Linked DNA regions of Homo sapiens: region 2 is linked to region 1. Evidence: promoter capture Hi-C in human tissues and cell types (Jung and others, 2019). All regions are on one chromosome and are shown on one strand. Each heading gives the region's core, a stretch centred on a gene start or on the middle of the fragment in contact. The rest is flanking DNA. Distances are from core to core; before and after follow the strand shown.

Region 1 (4,256 bases), core at 976-3,475:
GATTCATAGAAAGGTTGGAGAGGAAAGCAGTATCTTCCCCTAAATACAAAGGAGAGAAGGTTAAAATGTTTTTAACAATTGGTTTTGTCGGTGAGAGGCAAAGACCAAGATCTCCTACGTTATTTATGTTTTTCAAGTTATTCATTTCTTGGGGGTTGGGAATACGGTCTCACTCTGTTGCCCAGACTGGAGTGCAGTAAAGCAATCACATCTCACTGCAGTTTTGATCTCCCAGGCTCAAGCGATCCTCCCACCTCAGCCTTCCGAGTAGCTGGGATTGCAGGCGTTTGCCACCACATCCAGCTAATTTTTAGTTTTTTGTAGAAACATGGTGTCACTATTTGCCTAGGCTGGTCTCAAATTCCTGGGCTCAAAAAATCCTCCTGCCTCAGCCTCTCAGAGTGTTGGGATTATAGATGTGAACCACTGTACCCAGCCTCAGATTATTTTTATATTTAGGAGGTATCTCCATATCTTAAACAAACATGTGTTCTCACTTATAATACAGATAATATGCTCTAGCTGATGAGAAAGCAAATAATTGGAAAAAAACACTGGAAACTTCCAGGACAAAATGAACATAGGAATAAAACTGAAGTAGAATGAGGAAGAGGAACTAGAACAAGGAAGAGGACCCAGAAGTAACAAATCAGAGTAATGCTGGAAAATCCTGTCAGGGAGGGAATGGTTAAGCCTATGTCTCAGTAACCATGAACAAAGGGCCAAAGAAACCCTTCATCCAATCCGGTGTTGGGAAACTGTTAACGACACAGAAGTCATCTGTTTGCTCAATGATTCACATTCCTTAGAGAGGGAGTTCTCAGACCAATCATTTTGAAAACTCAGTGATTTTCACATTCATTAATTCAGTGAGTGGACTCTTTAAATCTGGATGTCATTGGACCAGCCATTAAATCTTTGGCCGGTAATTGACTGAAATGGAGGACATTTTGCAAATTGTAATGCCTCCCACCTGGAGTGTGGTTGGCGTGCTTGCTTTGGAGACATTTTCATCCTTAGAATAGATCCCTTGCCAGTGGGATGTAAAAGAAAAAGGAAAAGGGTCCACTTCTCCCACATGAAGCCCCCCACTGCCTCTAGGGAGTGGCAAGAAAGCGGCAGTCAAAAGCTACAACTTGACTCGAATTTTGAAATAATCTCAGTTGAATTTTTCTTCCTTTGAAAACCATTTGAAAAACTATAGAAAGGATAGTGTTAAATTTCTACTGGGTTTAGTCCCACTTATATGAAAAGATTCGAAAAAGCATCTTTCCTTCCTATTTTTGAATCGGACCAGACAGAGGAGGTAAGCATAGTGAGTTACAGGGCTGGGCTTGTTCCTGGATCAGTTACCACATGGCTTGTCTCAGTCAAACACTTTGCACACCTCCCGTTCATCTGGCAAATAAGGGTCTTAAGTTTGATGGCCTTGAAGATAAACTTCCAGCACTAAATTGTTCTCTAGCGTCTAAATTTTAAGTGACTGCATAGCTTATTTCAAGGGCCACTTTTATATTGTTCCATAAAAATGAAAGGTATGTGTTTGGCTTTAATAAATGTGATCTATTTCAAGCTGCCATTGAAGAAACATTGAATGAAAGTTTCCATATTAAACATTACTTCAATAGAGAGAGAGGTGTTCCTTAACAGCTAATGTAATAATTAACAGTTCATTCAAATTAATTATAAGGAGTACTTCTCTATTTTCTTCTTTTCTGGATCTTAAGAATAAACTATGAAATGTTAATTTCTTGCTTAGGGCTCCTGCTAAGTATCAACAGTTTTCGTGTGTCTTGAAACTAATACCTAAATATTTCTCCCTATTGAGGCATCTTTATTAAAGCCAGAATTGATTACCATCTTAAGGAAAAGTGGCTTACTTACACTAGAATAAAGTAATAAAGTCCAAAATGTTTTTTAATTACTCCCCAATAAACTTACAACATTTTGGCATTGTCTTCAGCTGTGTCTTGACACATGTATTTATACTTTTATATCAGAGTGATTTTTACACAGGAAGTTTCAGCTCTGTAATTAGCAATCCACAATAGAAACTTTGACACTTAATTACAGCATTGCTAAGGCAATAATAATATGAGAAATCCTAAACTTGAATGCAGTATTTCTTGACACACCCCTAGCTACCTTCTTATTGGCTGGGAAACAATTATATATGACTAGTAAATAATCCATACTGAAATGAATGTGTATGAAAAAAGGCAACATGCATTTACAACAGGTACTTCTAGTTAGGCCAAGTTCAGTCACAGCTACTGATTTGGACTAAAACGTTATGGGCAGCAGCCAAGGAGAACATCATCAAAGACTTCTCTAGACTCAAAAGGCTTCCACGTTCTACATCTTGAGCATCTTCTACCACTCCGAATTGAACCAGTCTTCAAAGTAAAGGCAATGGCATTTTATCCCTTGCAAATTGCTGGGCTGGTTCTTGGGTTCCTTGGCATGGTGGGGACTCTTGCCACAACCCTTCTGCCTCAGTGGAGAGTATCAGCTTTTGTTGGCAGCAACATTATTGTCTTTGAGAGGCTCTGGGAAGGGCTCTGGATGAATTGCATCCGACAAGCCAGGGTCCGGTTGCAATGCAAGTTCTATAGCTCCTTGTTGGCTCTCCCGCCTGCCCTGGAAACAGCCCGGGCCCTCATGTGTGTGGCTGTTGCTCTCTCCTTGATCGCCCTGCTTATTGGCATCTGTGGCATGAAGCAGGTCCAGTGCACAGGCTCTAACGAGAGGGCCAAAGCATACCTTCTGGGAACTTCAGGAGTCCTCTTCATCCTGACGGGCATCTTCGTTCTGATTCCGGTGAGCTGGACAGCCAATATAATCATCAGAGATTTCTACAACCCAGCCATCCACATAGGTCAGAAACGAGAGCTGGGAGCAGCACTTTTCCTTGGCTGGGCAAGCGCTGCTGTCCTCTTCATTGGAGGGGGTCTGCTTTGTGGATTTTGCTGCTGCAACAGAAAGAAGCAAGGGTACAGATATCCAGTGCCTGGCTACCGTGTGCCACACACAGATAAGCGAAGAAATACGACAATGCTTAGTAAGACCTCCACCAGTTATGTCTAATGCCTCCTTTTGGCTCCAAGTATGGACTATGGTCAATGTTTTTTATAAAGTCCTGCTAGAAACTGTAAGTATGTGAGGCAGGAGAACTTGCTTTATGTCTAGATTTACATTGATACGAAAGTTTCAATTTGTTACTGGTGGTAGGAATGAAAATGACTTACTTGGACATTCTGACTTCAGGTGTATTAAATGCATTGACTATTGTTGGACCCAATCGCTGCTCCAATTTTCATATTCTAAATTCAAGTATACCCATAATCATTAGCAAGTGTACAATGATGGACTACTTATTACTTTTTGACCATCATGTATTATCTGATAAGAATCTAAAGTTGAAATTGATATTCTATAACAATAAAACATATACCTATTCTAAAATGTAACCTATTATTTTTCCTCTACATTGTTTCTTGTACTACATACTAACAACTAAATGGTGACCTTTTTAAAAAGATTATCATGGAAAATTGTAGATATCAAACAATAATCGTTAGTTGAATTAGACGAAAATGTCCATCTAATGAAAGGCTTTGTTCCTTTAGGAACTCACACAATAAAAATTAGACACTTTAGTGAAAAGAGAGCTCTGATTTCTCTTAGGACAATTAAGAAGACAGATTTTAAGGTCTCTAATTTATACAGTTAAACTTGCCTAGAATTACTGTTTAAAGGAAAATAATTTATAAATGAAAACTAACATTTTTCATAGCCTACCATCTGCACGTCAAGCAAACAGAAGCATCTATCTTGATAAGACACATCAATGGGAGGCTATTAACACTCAATTCTTATCTAGAGGTTATATGGTCCCAAATAGAAAATTGCAGTTTGGGCATTGAAGGGAATGGTTTCTTTTCTTTGTTTTATTCTTTAGTCATTGCACAGGTATAAACATGCTAAGCAATTCGAAGAATCAAGGTAATGATTCAGACAATTAGTCAGGCTAAGATAAATACCTTTTTTGTATTCTCTACTAAACAAATAGGTATGGTGAAGGTTTTTTTGTTTTGCTTGAATTACACACATGATTTTCTCAGTTCTTCATTTCCCATATCAATATCAGGGTTAAAAGTGTGGTGGGTCATGTGGGGTGAGAGTGAGTGGGGAGTGTTTATGAGGCAAGATCACCCCTATGGGTTGCTTCTGAATAGCTTTTAGATCTTGTGAAT
Region 2 (4,064 bases), core at 1,035-3,534, 58 kb after region 1:
ATTGCATCAGAAGTATCATCAAACCCCGTAAATAACAAAGACTGGGTTAGATGCATTCTACGAACAGGTGGTCATGGTATTGTGCCTCATATAGGACAAAAAATAATATATTTCAGTAATGTGGTTTCACTTTCAGAAAAATAGTGACTGAAACAATTCATTTCTATGTGTCTTCAGACATTTTAACGGAGGATCTAACAACAACGTGTTATGGAATCCTAGGGCCTACGGGTGGAACAAACACCAACGCCGCCTGGTCAGAAGCATCACACACTACGTAAGAATATCTATGTAGAAGAGTTCAGAGTCTTGTTTCTGCAACCTGAGTCACTCTACAACTTTGGAAAATATTATAAAAATCTTTATGTTGGCAAAACCATCGTTTTATAATTTTTATGTATTAACTCTAAATTCTCTTTAGTTATGAATATAACTCAATCTTCTATTGGGCTATTCTTCAAAAATGTAAAAGAGCCATTATGTTTCCTGAAGTCATCTATTAGTTACATTAACACTCCTATTTCTTCAACTCTTCCTCTATAAAATATTTTCTAGAATGTTTACATTCTGTCAATCCTTCTTTGTAAATATTTATTTGAATTTGTCATTTTTAAAATGCAACATTCAACATTAAACCTGATTCTGACATGGGATAGGCTATGTGTTGAGTTTATTATCTTTTACAATCTAGTTGCTCATTGCTGTACAGTAAAATTCATAAACTGTGCTTTCCAGTTAGATTTATCCAAATGTAAATGAAATTGGACAGAGGAAAAAATACTCTCATAAGTTTAATTACTTAAGAATATATATATCTATATAATTTATGGATTATTCCCTCTTTCATGGTATCAGCTATTCATTCATTCACCCATCTTTTTTATAATTTTTGCTTTCTTATATTTTATGCCTTCTTACCCCAAAATGAATAAACCCTAATATAACCTGAAAATAAGATTATAAAAATGACAATGTACAAAAAAAAGTACACATATGTTTATAACATGTTTATAACTTAAATAATTTTGCTTTTATTTTTAAGAGAAATCCAGGAATAATATACTAATAGGGATTAAATAAATTATGTAAGTCATGCTCTTATTAAACACACTGGTTTTAGTAAACATTTTAAAAGTTAACATAGTCCAAGGAATGAGTTTTTTTTTTAGAAAAATCAATGAATTCATTGTGATGCTTTTAAGGAAAATTAAGTTAACAAAACTAAGCTTTCACATTTTGAAAATACTATTTTGAATCTTTTAGCTTGGGGGTTATACAAATTATTTTCATCTAATTGAAGGTTTGGTAAAGAAGACCAAAGCATACTAGCAATATACCTGAACCCTTATATTTTTTCGTATAAGAGTAGTTAAACACAGAAAACAACCTGAATATTCTACAGTGGCAATTAACATACTTTTAACATTCATCCTCTTTGATGTTCTAGTAATTACATTTTTAATATGCATGCATTAAGCATATTTTAATTATGTAAGAAATTATATTTGTATGCAAGAATGAAAAAGACAAAAGACACATGGGTAAATGTTTATGATCTTACATTTGGCAAAAGTTTCTTAGATATGACACCGAAAGCATAATCAACAAAAGAAAAAATAGAAAAATTGGACTTTATCACAATTAAAAACTTCTGTTTTTCAAAAGGCACTGTCAGGAAAGTGAAAAGACAATCCAAATAATAGAAAATATATGCAAATTATATATGATAGAAAACTTATATCCAGAATATACAAAGAACTCTACAACTCAATAATTAAAAACACAATTTAAAAAGTGCAAAGTATTTGTATAGACATTTCTCCAAGGAAGATACACAACTGGCTAATAAGCACATAAAAAGATACTTAACAACATTAGTCATCAGAGAAATGCAAATAAAAACCACAATGAGATAATACTTCTTACGAACTGGGATGGCTAGAATCAAAGTAGATAATAACAAGTGTTTGTGATGATATAAAGAAATTGAGTCCCTATACATTGTTGCTGGGAAATGGGGATGAAAAACATCTGGCAGTTCTGTGAACAATTAGACATAGAGCTACCATATGACCCAGCAATTCTCGTCCTTCGTACATACCCAAGAGAAATGAAACCTATATGTACAAATGAAAACACGTACACATATGTTTATAACAGTATTATTCAGTATTAATAGCCAATAGGTAGAAACATCTCAAATGTCCATCAACGAATAAATGGATAATCAAAATGTAGACTATGATAAAATGGAATGTAATTTTTCCATAAAAAAGAAAGTACTGATACATGGTACAATATGGATGAACCTTGAAACCAGGCAAAGTGAAAGGAGCCGATTACAGAAGATCACACATTATATAATCATATTATATTACTTAATTATATACATTAATATGAAAGTCCAGTATATAATTACATTCATATGAAAGTCCAGAATAGAGATAGAAAGTAGATTAGAGTTGCTTAGGGCTGGAGAAAGGATGGGAATGTAGGGGCTGATAACTTAAAAGTACAAGATTTCTTCATGTGGTGATGAAAATGTTCTAAAACTAGGAGTAGTCATGGTTGCACATATCTATAACTATACATCATATAAATTCAATTGTATAATTTAAATAGATGAATTTTATGGTATGTGAGTTATAGCTCAATAAAGCTGTTAAACAAATTTTTGAGAAAGAAAAACAACTATGGAGAATTTATTCAACCAGATATTAAGACCTGTAGAGCTATCGAAGTAAAGATAGTGTGATAGTGACGCAAAGATGGGCAAATTGACTGAAGTTGAAAAGAACAGAGAACGTATTGATCACATATGAATGCTGACTTCATGATGAATGCCGTACTGCAGAACAGTGGAGAAACAGTCTTTTAAATAAATATAGAGCTGGGTCAAAAAAAAAGAATATTGAATAAATATGATATTGACTCTATTTTCAAAGATCCCACAATCTTGTTCCATTTTCATAAATCACAAAGGCAAGCTCTGGTATTTAAAGGAAACATTAACTCTTAACATTCTGACTTAGAATTCTCTTCTTCATCCTATGTGAACCTACCCAAATACTGTGAGAGTGCAGAGAGACAGTCAAAGTAATTTTAGCATAATTGAATTACTTACAGAATGTTCTATTAATTATTTTAAGTACTTCTTTTTCTGTACATTTAAAAAAAGGAAATTGCTCTGAAAGAATAAAGCTTGAAGTTTTAGGTCTAGCCTTTAGTTTCATTACTCCCTCTCTACCTCTTTTCCTGGGTAAAATGATCTTTGGCATTTAAGTTCTCTTACTACCTACAGTGTTTTACCATAATCATTCTGCTGCCTCCTAAGAACCATACTGTCAACTTTAAATGTGATAAGCAGCCTCATAAACTCAGAGGTTTCCTTAATTTCATGCAGCGACTTTTAATAGTTTTCCCAACATGCAAACTGAATGCTTTATTCAGTTGCAAATGGTTTTGGAATATTTTTTTGCAGCAAATATGAGTCAAAGTCAATAATATGTAATGAAGTGCTAGCATGTTACTACTTATGAGCATTAAGTCCAGATTTCTGCCAAGATTATCATACAACTATACCATATATCAGATGCAGATTATTTTTCTTTATAGTGTAATGGGAGTGTGTGTGTGTGTGTGTGTGTGTAAGCTTGTTGAGCCCTCTGTAGAGCTTAAGGCAAGCAGCTTCTCTTTCTCTCTATGGCCATATATAGTACATCTATTCCCTTAATTGAAGTTTCAGCCATTTTATCTACCTTATTTTTGCACAGCCTTATTCAAAACAAGCTTAGAAATGTTGAATGTATTTAGAAAGTAATGTACCAATACTGATCAAGGTTTAACATGTTTACGACATTTAACACTGTAATTTCTCCTGTAGGAGATTATCTTATAATCTAAAAGTAGGAAAAGGACTATATAAATAAAAATAGTTTTTATATTATTATCCATGTCAACAAAATAAATAAATATTAGCCTGTGTTTGACACCGTGAGCCTGGGCTGAGGTGGTAGATTATAAGCAAATTATATCTTATCTATTTGATAAAATATTATAACTAT

Evidence for each region. The method cuts DNA at HindIII sites, captures the fragments that hold promoters and counts their contacts. A contact is called where the count stands out against the background at its distance.
Region 2: a fragment that was not itself captured here is called in contact with the fragment with the promoter of CLDN17 in region 1 in 1 of the 25 tissues and cell types used here (hippocampus).

What each region holds. Positions count from the first base shown.
Region 1 is chr21:30,164,774-30,169,029 of GRCh38, reverse strand. It overlaps CLDN17 (claudin 17), which reads left to right and starts at 2,225. Exons shown (of 1, transcript NM_012131.3): 1 at 2,225-3,465. The coding sequence starts at 2,413. The coding sequence ends at 3,087. The HindIII fragment of the contact is 9,466 bases long and covers 1-4,256 here.
Region 2 is chr21:30,106,808-30,110,871 of GRCh38, reverse strand. No RefSeq gene overlaps it. Among named protein-coding and RNA genes, the nearest start is that of CLDN17, 58 kb to the left of the region's middle. The HindIII fragment of the contact is 3,385 bases long and covers 592-3,976 here.